Linked DNA regions of Homo sapiens: region 2 is linked to region 1. The links are contacts of gene promoters, found by promoter capture Hi-C in blood cells and fetal thymus (Javierre and others, 2016). All regions are on one chromosome and are shown on one strand. Each heading gives the region's core, a stretch centred on a gene start or on the middle of the fragment in contact. The rest is flanking DNA. Distances are from core to core; before and after follow the strand shown. Region 1 holds the start of C8orf17 (chromosome 8 putative open reading frame 17). Region 2 overlaps TRAPPC9 (trafficking protein particle complex subunit 9).

Evidence for each region. Contacts are between HindIII fragments. The CHiCAGO score rates a contact against its expected background, and 5 or more counts as called.
Region 2: a contact is called between a fragment that was not itself captured here and the fragment with the promoter of C8orf17 in region 1, in 1 of 17 cell types (megakaryocytes). The highest score is 5.2, in megakaryocytes.

What each region holds. Positions count from the first base shown.
Region 1 is chr8:139,929,250-139,935,042 of GRCh38, forward strand. C8orf17 (chromosome 8 putative open reading frame 17) reads left to right here and starts at 2,171. Exons shown (of 1, transcript NR_172942.1): 1 at 2,171-4,695. The region is part of intron 19 of TRAPPC9 (trafficking protein particle complex subunit 9); the gene reads right to left. The HindIII fragment of the contact is 2,245 bases long and covers 70-2,314 here.
Region 2 is chr8:140,391,549-140,397,341 of GRCh38, forward strand. All of the region lies in intron 7 of TRAPPC9 (trafficking protein particle complex subunit 9), which reads right to left. Among named protein-coding and RNA genes, the nearest start is that of TRAPPC9, 63 kb to the right of the region's middle. The HindIII fragment of the contact is 1,282 bases long and covers 2,229-3,510 here.

The sequences.
Region 1 (5,793 bases), core at 921-3,420:
AACAACGATGTCTCTAAAGTCTTACAAAGCACAGCACAGAGTGGATGATCAATACATGAATCTACTGAAAGCTTGGGGTCACCAGGATAACAGATAACGTCTGATACATTTGAGTTAAGACAAGGTGCCTTGAAATAACTTTAGTGCAATGCCGTTCTCAAACACAGCAGTGGTCCCAGGCTTACAATAAAAAAAAAGGGAGGGGGCCGAGCGTGGTGGCTCACGCCTGTAATCCCAGCACTTTGGAAGGCCGAGGTGGGCGGATCATGAGAAAAAAAAAAAAGCTGAGCTGTCCTGTGCTTCGGGCAGCCTCAGTTCTTGGCTTTGGTTTTCTCTCCACACAGAGTTACCGTGCTGCCTGCTGCTTCTTCCTGAGCTACAGGCTTCCATGGTCTTCCAGAAGAATACTGTCCTCTTCTGAAACCATGTTTCTGCATATGCCCTGCTGCTTCAGGAACCATGGTGCCATGCACCCGACACATAGGTGTGTGGGGAGTGGACTCAGGTCCCTTGGCTGGTCACCCAGCAAGCCTGGGCAGCGCTGGCCAGGTGTTCAAGGAAGGCCCAGCAGAGCAGGCTAAGCTGGGATGGGCCTCTGGGGTCTGCCCTCCCCACCTTTCCATCCTCATCTCCAGCCCAGCCCCTCTCTGCCTCAGACCCTTCCATGTCCTGTAAAATGGAGCAAGCACCACCTTGTAGGTGCAGTCCTCAGGAGCAGCACCTGACACACAGAAGGCCATCAATATACGTGTTTGGCACTGTGCGTGGATTCTGCCGATTCTCTACACTTCTCTGTTATGAACAGGTAATTTAAAGAAAACATTGAGCATCGTGAATGGCATATGCTAGGGGCTGAACAAGCATAACTTCACTTCTCTTATTTCTGGGACCTCCCAGATGCCTAAGAGGTGACAGCCAAGGGGGTGACACTCAGGAAGAGCTGAGACCCTTAAGCCTTCTACGCACTATCTTAATGCATGTTTACCCCTCCATCCCAACTCCTGAGATGGGAAGGCTTATAGTGTGGGGCAGTGGGGCTGCGCCAGCCGGGAGTTGATGTGTAACGTGAACAAGATACAGCCAAGGTGAGCAGTGGCAAGGCCAGCGCGCTCACACAACACGGTTCTCGCCAGTCAACTTCTCCCGTGGTGTCGGTAGGGCAGGTGGGTGGCTCAGGATCACAGGGAAAACAAGGGGGTCGATGACTAGAGCCAAGCCTTGGAAAGGGACTTCTGTTCTGCTTTCCAAGCAGCAATGCTCGCATCAGACAGGAGATAGTCACACCCCTCTTTTTTCCATCCTAGACATCAAACAGACAAAATGGTACCAGTGACAGATTAATATTCAAAGGCCATCTTGATCCTTCTAGACCCGTCAAATACAATAAGGAGCATCCCCCGTGTTTAGCCCCATGGAGGAGGGAACTTATTTTGCAATGAGATTTCGTTTTCAACCAATCCTAGTAACCGGCCTTCCAGAGCTGGAGCTCCCTTAGAAACCCAGCCTCATTCCACCGCTGTCTCATAGATGAGACCCTCTGAGGAGACGCTCAAAACAGGGAAGGAGGCGAAAACGGGGCCACCCAAGGGTTATGAGGATGAAATCACGACGACAGCAACACTGTTGAGTGCTCAGTGTACGCTGGACACCTGCATTAGCTCATTGACTCTGCACTCGGTGGTGCCCCCTTTCATAGGTATGGAAAAAGGCACATGCAGGGTGCCCACCCTGCTGGAATCAGCCCTCAGGTCATGGAGCCTGTTCCCTGTCTGTCCAGGAAGCAACCCCGAGGCCCTGGCTCTTGTCCTCCCACCTCCCAAACTGCCCCAAAGGGGTGAGGAAAAGAGCTTCTAGATGATTCTAACCCCACCTCTATAACCGCAAGCTGTGAGATCCTCGGGAAACACTTCGACCTCATGAGGCTCAGTTTTCTAATCTGAAAAATGAGAATATTAACCATAGACAACTGCCACTCACTGAACACCAGCTGCAGTAGAGCCGAGCATACACGTAATCCTCACCGCAACCATAGGAGCTGGATCCTGACATCCCCATCTCACAGAGGAGGAGACTGAGGTTAATGACGTGGCAAATATCCACAATGACAGTTTCTGCAAGTCTTTCCTAGTGCAATCACCCACAACCACAGCCCTAGAAAGAAGGATGAACACTCTTCCACAGAGGCTGGCACGCACCTTAAGGCAGGTGCCCACTGGAACCCTGTCTGTGGTGTCAAGGATTTTACAGTTGACCTTGAAGACCACCTAGTCCAAAGCTCTCATTGTACAAAAAGCCAAGCCCAGAGGTCACACAAAGCTTTGGACCTGAGCCTCTGGGCCCCGCGGTCTGGAAAGTGCTCCTTTCTCTGCATGCTACGGGGCTATCAACTTGAGCTGGTCCAGTCTGCAGATCTACATCCTGCCCGCCTGAGCAGAGGCGGGTGTGGGACCAGTGCGGATCTCCACGATTTGTCAGCCCATCCTGATAAGTCTGAGGCTCTGACCATCATATCTCATCACAGCATCATTAGGATTACAAGTGCCATGCGGTAGAAGAGGAAGGGAAACACGAACAAAAGGATGAGAAATTAAGCCCATTTCACCCGGAAAAGATGACTCTGATTTATTGCTCTATAGCAGCTGACGATGGCCTGTCAGAGAAATTCTGTGTTGAAAATAAAGAATAAAAATCACCCAGAGTTGTTTTGCCACACATCCAAATTAGAAAATGCTACTCTCCGGATGATTTATGCTTCAATTTTTTCCCTTATTCACAGAGAATTTGTCCAGCATTACAAGAGCACCTAAGAGCAATAATACAATTCAAAAGGAGATAGAAGAGGCCGCAGAGGTGTTGATGTGCGGCTGAGGGCGGGGTGCTGGCCCAAAGGCAGGGCTTTGGTGCTCAGAAGCATTGACCTTACAGGGAGGAACAAGGAGAAACCAGCCAGGCAGGCCCCGCAGGCAGCCCACAGAGCCACTTCGCCGTGCAGCCGAGGGAGTCCCGCACCACGGGGCCTCGCTCAGGGTAGCCACCATGGGAGAATGTCCCCACCTCGTGGATGTCAGGCTTGGCCACAGGTCCTTGGCCACGGGACCTGAGCAGAGTGACATATGCCACACTGGATCAGAAGCACGCTGGACCACCACGTGGTATGGCTCCCTTTCTTTCTCCCGTCATAAGTACAAGATGTTGGCTGACCTGACTCCTGGGGTAGAAATGTCATGTAGACACTGGGCGCGGTGGCTCACGCCTGTAATCCCAGCACTTTGGAAGGCCGAGGCAGGTGGATTGCCTGAGCTCAGGAGTTCGAGACCAGCCTGGACAACATGGTGAAACCCGTCTCTACTAATTTACAAAAAAAATTAGCCAGGTGTGTTGGCACATGCCTGTAGTCCCAGCTACGTGGGAGGCTGAGGCACGAGAATTGCCTGAACCCCAGAGGTGGAGGTTGCAGTGAGCCGAGATGGTACCTCTGCACTGCAGCCTGGGCAACAGAATGAGACTGTGTCTTCAAAAAAAAAAAGCACTGTCATGCAGGGCAGGGTCCCAAGGCCCCAGCCAACCTCTCGTTGACATGTAATGTAAGAAGATGTCAACTCATGCTTATAGTCACTGACATTTAGGAATAGTCTGTTACCACAGCATAAGCTGGTAAAAAAAAAAAAAAAAATCATACAGCTCTTCTTCCCGGAACGCCCCTGCACCTCTGCTCCGGTGCACAAATGCTTTCTCTTCAAGGCATGGCGCAAAAAAGCCACTACTTCCAGAAGCATCTCCTCATTCCCCGCCGGGAGCAACATCTCTCTTCTCGAGACCCCAGCCCCTCCGCTGTCTACCCATGGACTTCCTCAGTGTTTGTTTTTTGCATGATTCTTTGTGACCAAGCTGTTTCTCCAGCTGCCTTGAGGACATGCCCTAGGGAACAGTGCTCTGAATCGTACCTGGATTCTGTGCCTACCTGCTCCATCTAAAGCAGAAAACTCCACAACTAAGATCTCTTCTAACATTTAAGGAATAGAGCCTAATTAGCGCATGAATACGTGTTGAACTGTGAATGAATCAATGAGTATGGAAACTACATTATACGCAGTGCTGATAGAACCAAGTTGCCAAGGGAGATATCATCTCTCCTGCAGGAAGGAAGTCCTGCCTCCCACTGATCCACTCAGCGCACAGCCTTGAACAAAACAGAGCAAGAGTTATAACCTTCAGATGTGGGGGCAGAATAGGACCCATTTGGGCAGACACAGGCCACGGAAACCACAGGGCCAGCGTCTTGAGCCCTCGATCAGACGCCTCCCGCCCACCGCGGCCGCTTCTCCACGCTTTTGCCCAGATCTCTGCACCGCGTGGCCCGGTCTTGCCTCCCTGAGGACCACACTGGCTGCAACCCAAACTCGACTCTTCTACTTACACTTGCTCAGCATTTTTGTCATCCCTGCCCTTGGCCAATCCCTGTCTTGGTTTCTGCTCTTCCCACACAAAGTTTTGGGAATCAATTCATACATATTTGAGATTAACCAAAGTCCATGATCAGTTCTGGACCGCTATGGATTCCAGATCCACCTTACGTAGCCGTGTGAGCTCCGGTAAATTACATAACCCATCAAATTTCTTTATCTATAAAGCAGCAACAATAATGTCACGAAGGATTAAGGTAAAGATGAGAAATAGTATAGCAAAAGCATCTACTATGCTATGTGGTTGCTAGTAGGTGTCATCTATTATTTATAAACCTACATGATCGTAATACCATCCTGTCCATATTTCTCCATCCTTAGCTGCTACTACGTTATAGAAACCTCTGTGAGAAGTTATACTCAGCAGAATTCATTTTTGAAAACAAATTTTTTGTAAAACAGGTTAAGCTATGTGATTGCCTTCATTCATTCAACAAAATGCTTTGTGTGCCGACACTAACAGCCACTGTTTTAGGCAAATGTGGTTGAATCCCTGACTTCAAGTCCAATCAGAGAGAGACAGAGAGATTAGGCAAATGTGGCTGAATCCCTGACTTCAAGTCCAGTCAGAGAGAGAGAGAGAGAGAGAGAGAAGATGAGAGTAGCTGTACGCACAGCAGGAGCGTGCACAGGCTACCTGGCAGGGGTGTCTCCTGTCATTACAGTTAGCAGTGACAATAATGACAAATATTCTACCACCATCAATGACAATTTGCACAGACAATGGAAAACCTGGGCTCTTGAAACTTCATTCTTCCAATCTCTTGTAGGCCATGCACTGCTGACTGGCTTTCCTGGTGCTATTTCAGTGGTACTCATAGTGTAGAGAGAGTTTTTTACTTAATGATCAGCCCCTGTCTGAGTCATCACTTCTAAACCGCTCAGCAATTCTCTTTCAATCCTCTTCCACCTTCAGGAAACTGCCTTCCATCCGCCGAGGAATCTCCAGGCTGCACATGTGGCCACAGGAGGCCCCATCCCTGCAGACTGGGGAAGGCGCGCCCTTCTGATCTTGCAAGTAGACACATGGGGCCCAATCGCAAGGGTTCCTCGGTCAGTGTTCGCTCAGATAGGGGACATGGCTCTGGGCAGGACAGCGCTGGCCAAAGGACGAAGTGACTGACCTGCAGCCACTCAGACTCTCAGACTTGAGATAGGAGCCCCAGCACTGCCAAGTCCTACTTGTGGGCTGGGTCAAACCAGGTTAGCTTTCCGAGGTCTTGCCAGGACACCTGCTTCCCAGGCTTGTTGTGAGAATTAGGCAAGACAATGTTCACAGAGTCTCTGGTACATCACACGGAGAAGACAGAGGACCACAGGTATTCCCTAG
Region 2 (5,793 bases), core at 1,620-4,119, 460 kb after region 1:
CTAAAAATACAAAATTAGCCGGGTGTGGTGGCACATGCCTGTAATCTCAGCTACTCAGGAGGCTGAGGCAGGAGAATCGCTTGAACCCAGGAGGCAGAGGTTGTGGTGAGCCGAGATCGTGCCATTGCACTCTAGCCTGGGCAACAACAGCGAAACTCTGTCTCAAAAAAAAAAAAAAAAAAGAATTAAGAAAGTGAGCAGGGCATGGTGGCTCACGCCTGTAATCCCAGCACTTTGGGAGGCCAAGGCAGGTGGATCACCTGAGGTCAGGAGTTTGAGACCAGCCTGGCCAACATGGTGAAACCCCATCTCTACCAAAAATACAAAAATTAGCCGGGTGTGGTGCGGGCACCTGTAATCCCAGCTACTCGGGAGGGTGAGGCAGGAGAATTGCTTGAACCCAAGAGGCAGAAGTTGCAGTGAGCTGAGATCGCGCCACTGCACTCCAACCTGGGCTACAAGAGTGAAACTCCGTCTCAAAAAAAAAAAAAGAATTAAGAAAGTGAATTTCAATCATTTGGGTAGTTTGAGGGAAACTACCTGATGTGGTACATAGAGCTTGGATTTTAGAACCCAAATGGTTTAAATACCAATGGTGGTATCTACAAGACAATCCTGGAGACACGGCAAACTCCTCTCCTCAATTTCTCATCCTTAAAATGGAGCGTAATAAACTACTTTGCAAAGTTGTTGTGATGATTATGGCCAATATCTGAAAAGCATCTAGCTAAATGCATGCAACAAGCTGGCTGCTTAATCACTCATATTATCAATGAGTTTCAGCTTATCCGATAATGGAGAGGTTCTGCCTTTTCATCTTTTTTGTGTGCCAACAGAGCTTATTTTACAGGATTAATACTGCTAGAGCAGGCCTGACTAGAAAATTCCCCAGGTCTACAAGGCAGAACATGTTCTTTTCCTTGGATCAAATTCACAATTATCTATGTTTATGTTTATCTGCTCAGTACCCATTTCCCCCTGTAGACCTGAAGCTCAGTCAGCATGAGACCACGTCTGTTTTGCTGCCCGCTGAACGCTCAAGGCTAGCAGACGACGGACACAGCGCCGAGTGCCTGGCCTTTGGTGTGGAACAAGTGAGTGAGGGCAGGAAAGAGAGAACCAGCACGCCTCCCAGAGGCCCTTCGCCTCTGAAATTATGGTCTGGCTTTGGACAAGTTGTACAACCTTTCCTTAGCCTGAGGTTCCTCCTCTACAAACAAGAATATCTGTACTGGAAACACAGAATTATAAGGATTAAAGAAAATAACCAAATTCACAAGCCTGTAAACTGTCTGTTAATGGGTCCTCAACAAACAGGAGCTGCCTGCATCCCTTTGATACAACCAGTGAGCCGTGAGGCAGACATGTTTGCTGAATGCTTTCTAAAAGCCAAGCACAGTGCTTAGCACTTTATATGCATTATTCTATCATTCACAACTTACAGCAACTCTAGAAAGAAGTGAATATTATCATTCCCATTTTATTTTTATTTTATTTTATTTTATTTTATTTTATTTTATTTTATTTTATTTTATTTTTTTAGATGGAGTTTTGCTCTTGTCACCCAGGCTGGAGTGCAGTGGCGCCATCTCGGCGCACTGCAACCTCCACCTCCTGGGTTCAAGCGATTCTCCTCCCTCAGCCTCCCGAGTAGCTGGTATTACAGGTGCCCCCCACCACACCCAGCTATCATTCCCATTTTATAGACTTGGAAACAGGCTAATGAGGTTACATAACTATTCCAGGTCGCACAGTGAGGAAATGGCAACTTCAACCTAAATCTGGGGGGCCAAAGTCCATGCTTCTTCCACCTCACCTCTACTTCACTATTTGCTTGTAAAAATCCACATGTCCAACCCATAAATGTACAGGTAGACAGCTATTAAATGAGGTATTTGCTGCCATTTGTGAATTATCTTAGATAGATAATTATCATAAACCATTCACCTAAACAACTAAAGAAAAGACAGGTCAATCCATATCCCTGCACACAAAGAGAAGGAACTCAGCAGTGAATTCCGTAAAACGAAAAAACCCTTTCCAATACCACTAAATCCAGATGTATTATTTATCAGTTTTTGTATTTGCACAGGGATTCTTAAAGCAGAAGGAACCTGCAATAATCATATCTCAGTTCCTTTCAAAATTTCCATATTAGCCAAAGTCATTTCCAGGAATAGATACAACTCATCAATTCTACAATGGAACATACTTGATCAAGAACCAAAAGCTTGTTCTATTTCAGAAAAACTACAGACCCCTCTTCTTTATTGTTCTTATAAAATCCCACCAGAACTCATTATCTTGCTGCCTGCTCATCTGGCAAACAAACATGGAGATGAGTCAACTCAAGCCAAGCGTCGTGCTGGGGAAAACTCACAGGGCCACGGAACCACATCTGCACTGTCCCCGCCCGCCCAGCATGGGAGCGCTGTTCCCCTTTCGCCGTGTCTTTGCTGACCTCTAGTGGTCCACAGGAAGAAAGAGCAAACAGCAAAAGGACAGGCTGCTCCAAAGAACAAAATGTCCTCACATTTTAAGTGAAAACATTTTATTTTATGAAATGTGTGTTTCTATACCCACCAGTGAAAAGAGATTCCCTGCATGCCCAATTGAGCAGCATTAACTTGCAAAGGCAACTCCAGTTGTTAACGGCAAGCCAGTCTCAAAGCCCTGCCCCCAGCTCCCAACCAAATTGTCTGCAATTCCACTGCTTCAGGCTTTCGGAGGGTCCGTTTAAAAGCACAGTCCACCCTCCACTGTCACAAAAGATGTCTCTTTACACCCTCCAATCTGATCATAACACTTGCCCATCGCAGAGTCACTTTATGGGGCAGGCATCAAGACAGTACTGGACAGGAGGTGTCAAGGCCAGTCCTTCCAGTGACCACATGAACTTGTTATCCTGTCATTTTACAGACCATACTATTAAGAGGCAGAGACACAGAGTGATTGTGCTCAAGGTTATGCAGCGAACAGGTGGCAACACAGGGGTGTGAACCTGAGCCCATCTGACAGCGCGACTCCACTGCGACTCCCAGCTTAGATTCCTTCAGGGATTCTCTCTTGCCCACCTGATGACTTTTATGCAAGACCTGTGACAGGAACTGACCTCAGCCTGCGTTGGGGCCTCTCTTCCCCACACTGTCCCTCACAAACAAAACTGCTATGATCCCCAAGTGACTTCTGTGCTCAGAGCTCACACCCAGCCACATGTTTACACCCAGTCTCTCTGCTCAGAGGCTCCTCAGCACCACTCTGCCGGGTACTTTTCACTCTCCTCAGAGAACACCTCCTCCGGGAAGCCCTCCACCCTCAGCACTTAGAGCATCAGGCTCCGGGGCAGGGACCACATCCTCATTGGCCCTGCAAATCTGTGGCCCGGCGCAGTGCTGAACCCCACGTAGGTCCCCCAAAAAGCATGTCAAATGAGAAGTATGATCCAGCTGTTGGTTCATTTGCCCGGCATCACTGGGGAGAACACCTCCCCTTGGGCGCCCAGGTAACTGAAGCTTCCACTTTGAAGTGTCAGGTTCCCGCTTCTGACCATCTTTACCAGAAACTTCAACATAAACTGCAAGATACGGACCTCTTCCTAATGCTCTTCTGATGACACACTGCCCCAGCGGTGGTGCTGTTTCCCTCATACTACGTGGCCTACAGCTTTGAGGGACTGTGGTGTTGTTTGTTTTTACTCGGTTTATGGGCTTTACTCTGTTCTGGTCGCTCCCTTTGGTGTGACACTGACACTTGCCACTTTGACTTATCGGCCTCCCTACCAACGTCTAATCTAGGAAATTAGCCAAGATGACGGGTCCAAGGGGCAGTAAATACACTTTACAGAAGAGGGAACTGAGGCACACAGAGGTTAAACATCTCGTCAAGGGAAGTGAAGCTGGAATGCCAACCCGAGCAGTCTGTATCCAGTCTGTGTGCTCAACTCTCATGCTAAAGCGCCTCTCTTTTTATAGACTATGGCTATAAACATTATAAAGTACCAAAATATGGACCAACTCTGAGATGGTGGTGACTGTTATTTTGTTTCTACTTAGGTTATCTGCTTTCAATTGAAAAAATTAAGAATCTCTGTAGTCAATGCGGCAACATTTCAACATATTAAATCTGGATGATAAGCATGAGTGTCTTATTATTAGTCATACTTCTTTGTGTGTTCAAAAGAGAAACTGATTTGAAAGTCTCTCTCCTCTCTCCTCCACCCCCTGCCCTGTCTCTCGCCTGAGCCCCCAGACCCACACCTCTCTCGTTATGTGAGAAGCTGAACCTCTCCTCTTTCCCTCCACCACTGCCTTGCAGCTTGCCCTCCTCGGAGCCCGGCCTGACCATCGGGCACCTAACAGAGCAACACTCCATTCCACCCGACCCACAGCCGGCCGCTGACCCTTTCCACGTAGACTCCCAAGCACGTTTCCAGCGGGCTGGCCTTCCTGCCAACAGCCCCAGTCCTTTGGGGAAGCTGTCAGCACTGCTCGCCTGGGCTCCCCAAGGGCCTCTGCAATGGGCCCCCTCCCTTCCTCTCCCTCCACTCCATACAAATCTGGTCACATCAGTCCCTGATGTTAAGACCTTGCCTTTTTTTTTTTTTTTTTTTTGAGACAAGAGTCTCACTCTGTCACCCAGACAGGAGTGCAGTGGTGTGATCTTGGCTCACTGCAAGCTCTGCCTCCCAGGTTCACGCCATTCTCCTGCCTCAGCCTCCTGAGTAGCTGGGACTACAAGCACCCGCCACCACGCCTGGCTAATTTTTTGTATTTTCAGTAGAGATGGGGTTTCACCATGTTATCCAGGATGGTCTCGATCTCCTGACCTCGTGATCTGCCCGCCTCAGCCTCCCAAAGTGCTGGGATTACAGGCGTGAGCCACTGCGCCTGGCCAAGACCTTGCTTTTAAAACCCGCCGCTCTTAGAAGCAGCCCCAAATGCTTCACCTGGCCGAGAAAGCCCTCCCGCTCAGACTCTGTCCTCCCTACCCCTCTCTTCCTCTCCCTCCCTCCCTCTCCTCCCCTACCTCTCCATCTCCCCATCTTTCTACCCCCACCGCCATCTCTGACTTTATTTGGTCTCTCCCAGTGATGTGTTCTGTTTCTGGGCATCACTCATGCTGAGCCATTTTCTTCCTGAATGACCTTCTCCCATCTCTTCTTTACCTGGCTATCTCCTATTCATCCTTCAAGGCCCAGTTCCAATCTCACTGACTTAGAGACTGTCCCTGGCCCCCACACCCTCCACCTCCATTAAACTAAGTTAAATCCTTTTGCCACTTCCTCCCTTGGCACCTGTACCTCCAATTTTTTTCCACTTACCCACTGCTCAATGTCTGCCTTTCCCACAAAACTGTCAGATGGATGAGGACAGGACCCACCTGCCTCAGCTCTCTTTCCCCCACCCTTAGCACAACGCCCTCCTAAGTATCTGCTGAATTACAGTGACCTACGTTCTCATACTCGTCTGGTGTCCTTAAGCAAATTGTTTAACTTGGTCTCAGTTTCCCTATCTATAAAGATCCAAGTTAAACTAACTAAATATCTAAAATCCTTCTAAGACTATCAATTTTAGGATTTAGCATTATCAATCCACAACTAAAGGTTTTAATGATTGTTTTATTAAAAATCCATTTAGATTCAGATTAAAGTATTATTTGCTGGGTTACCACTGTGTCAAAGGAGCTATATAAGTGCTTTCACAAACTGCATGTTTTATAAACCCAACACCCCAAACAGGGTTACAAATGGCAAGTACTTCATGAGTGACAATATCAAGACAAGAGGCGTAAAGC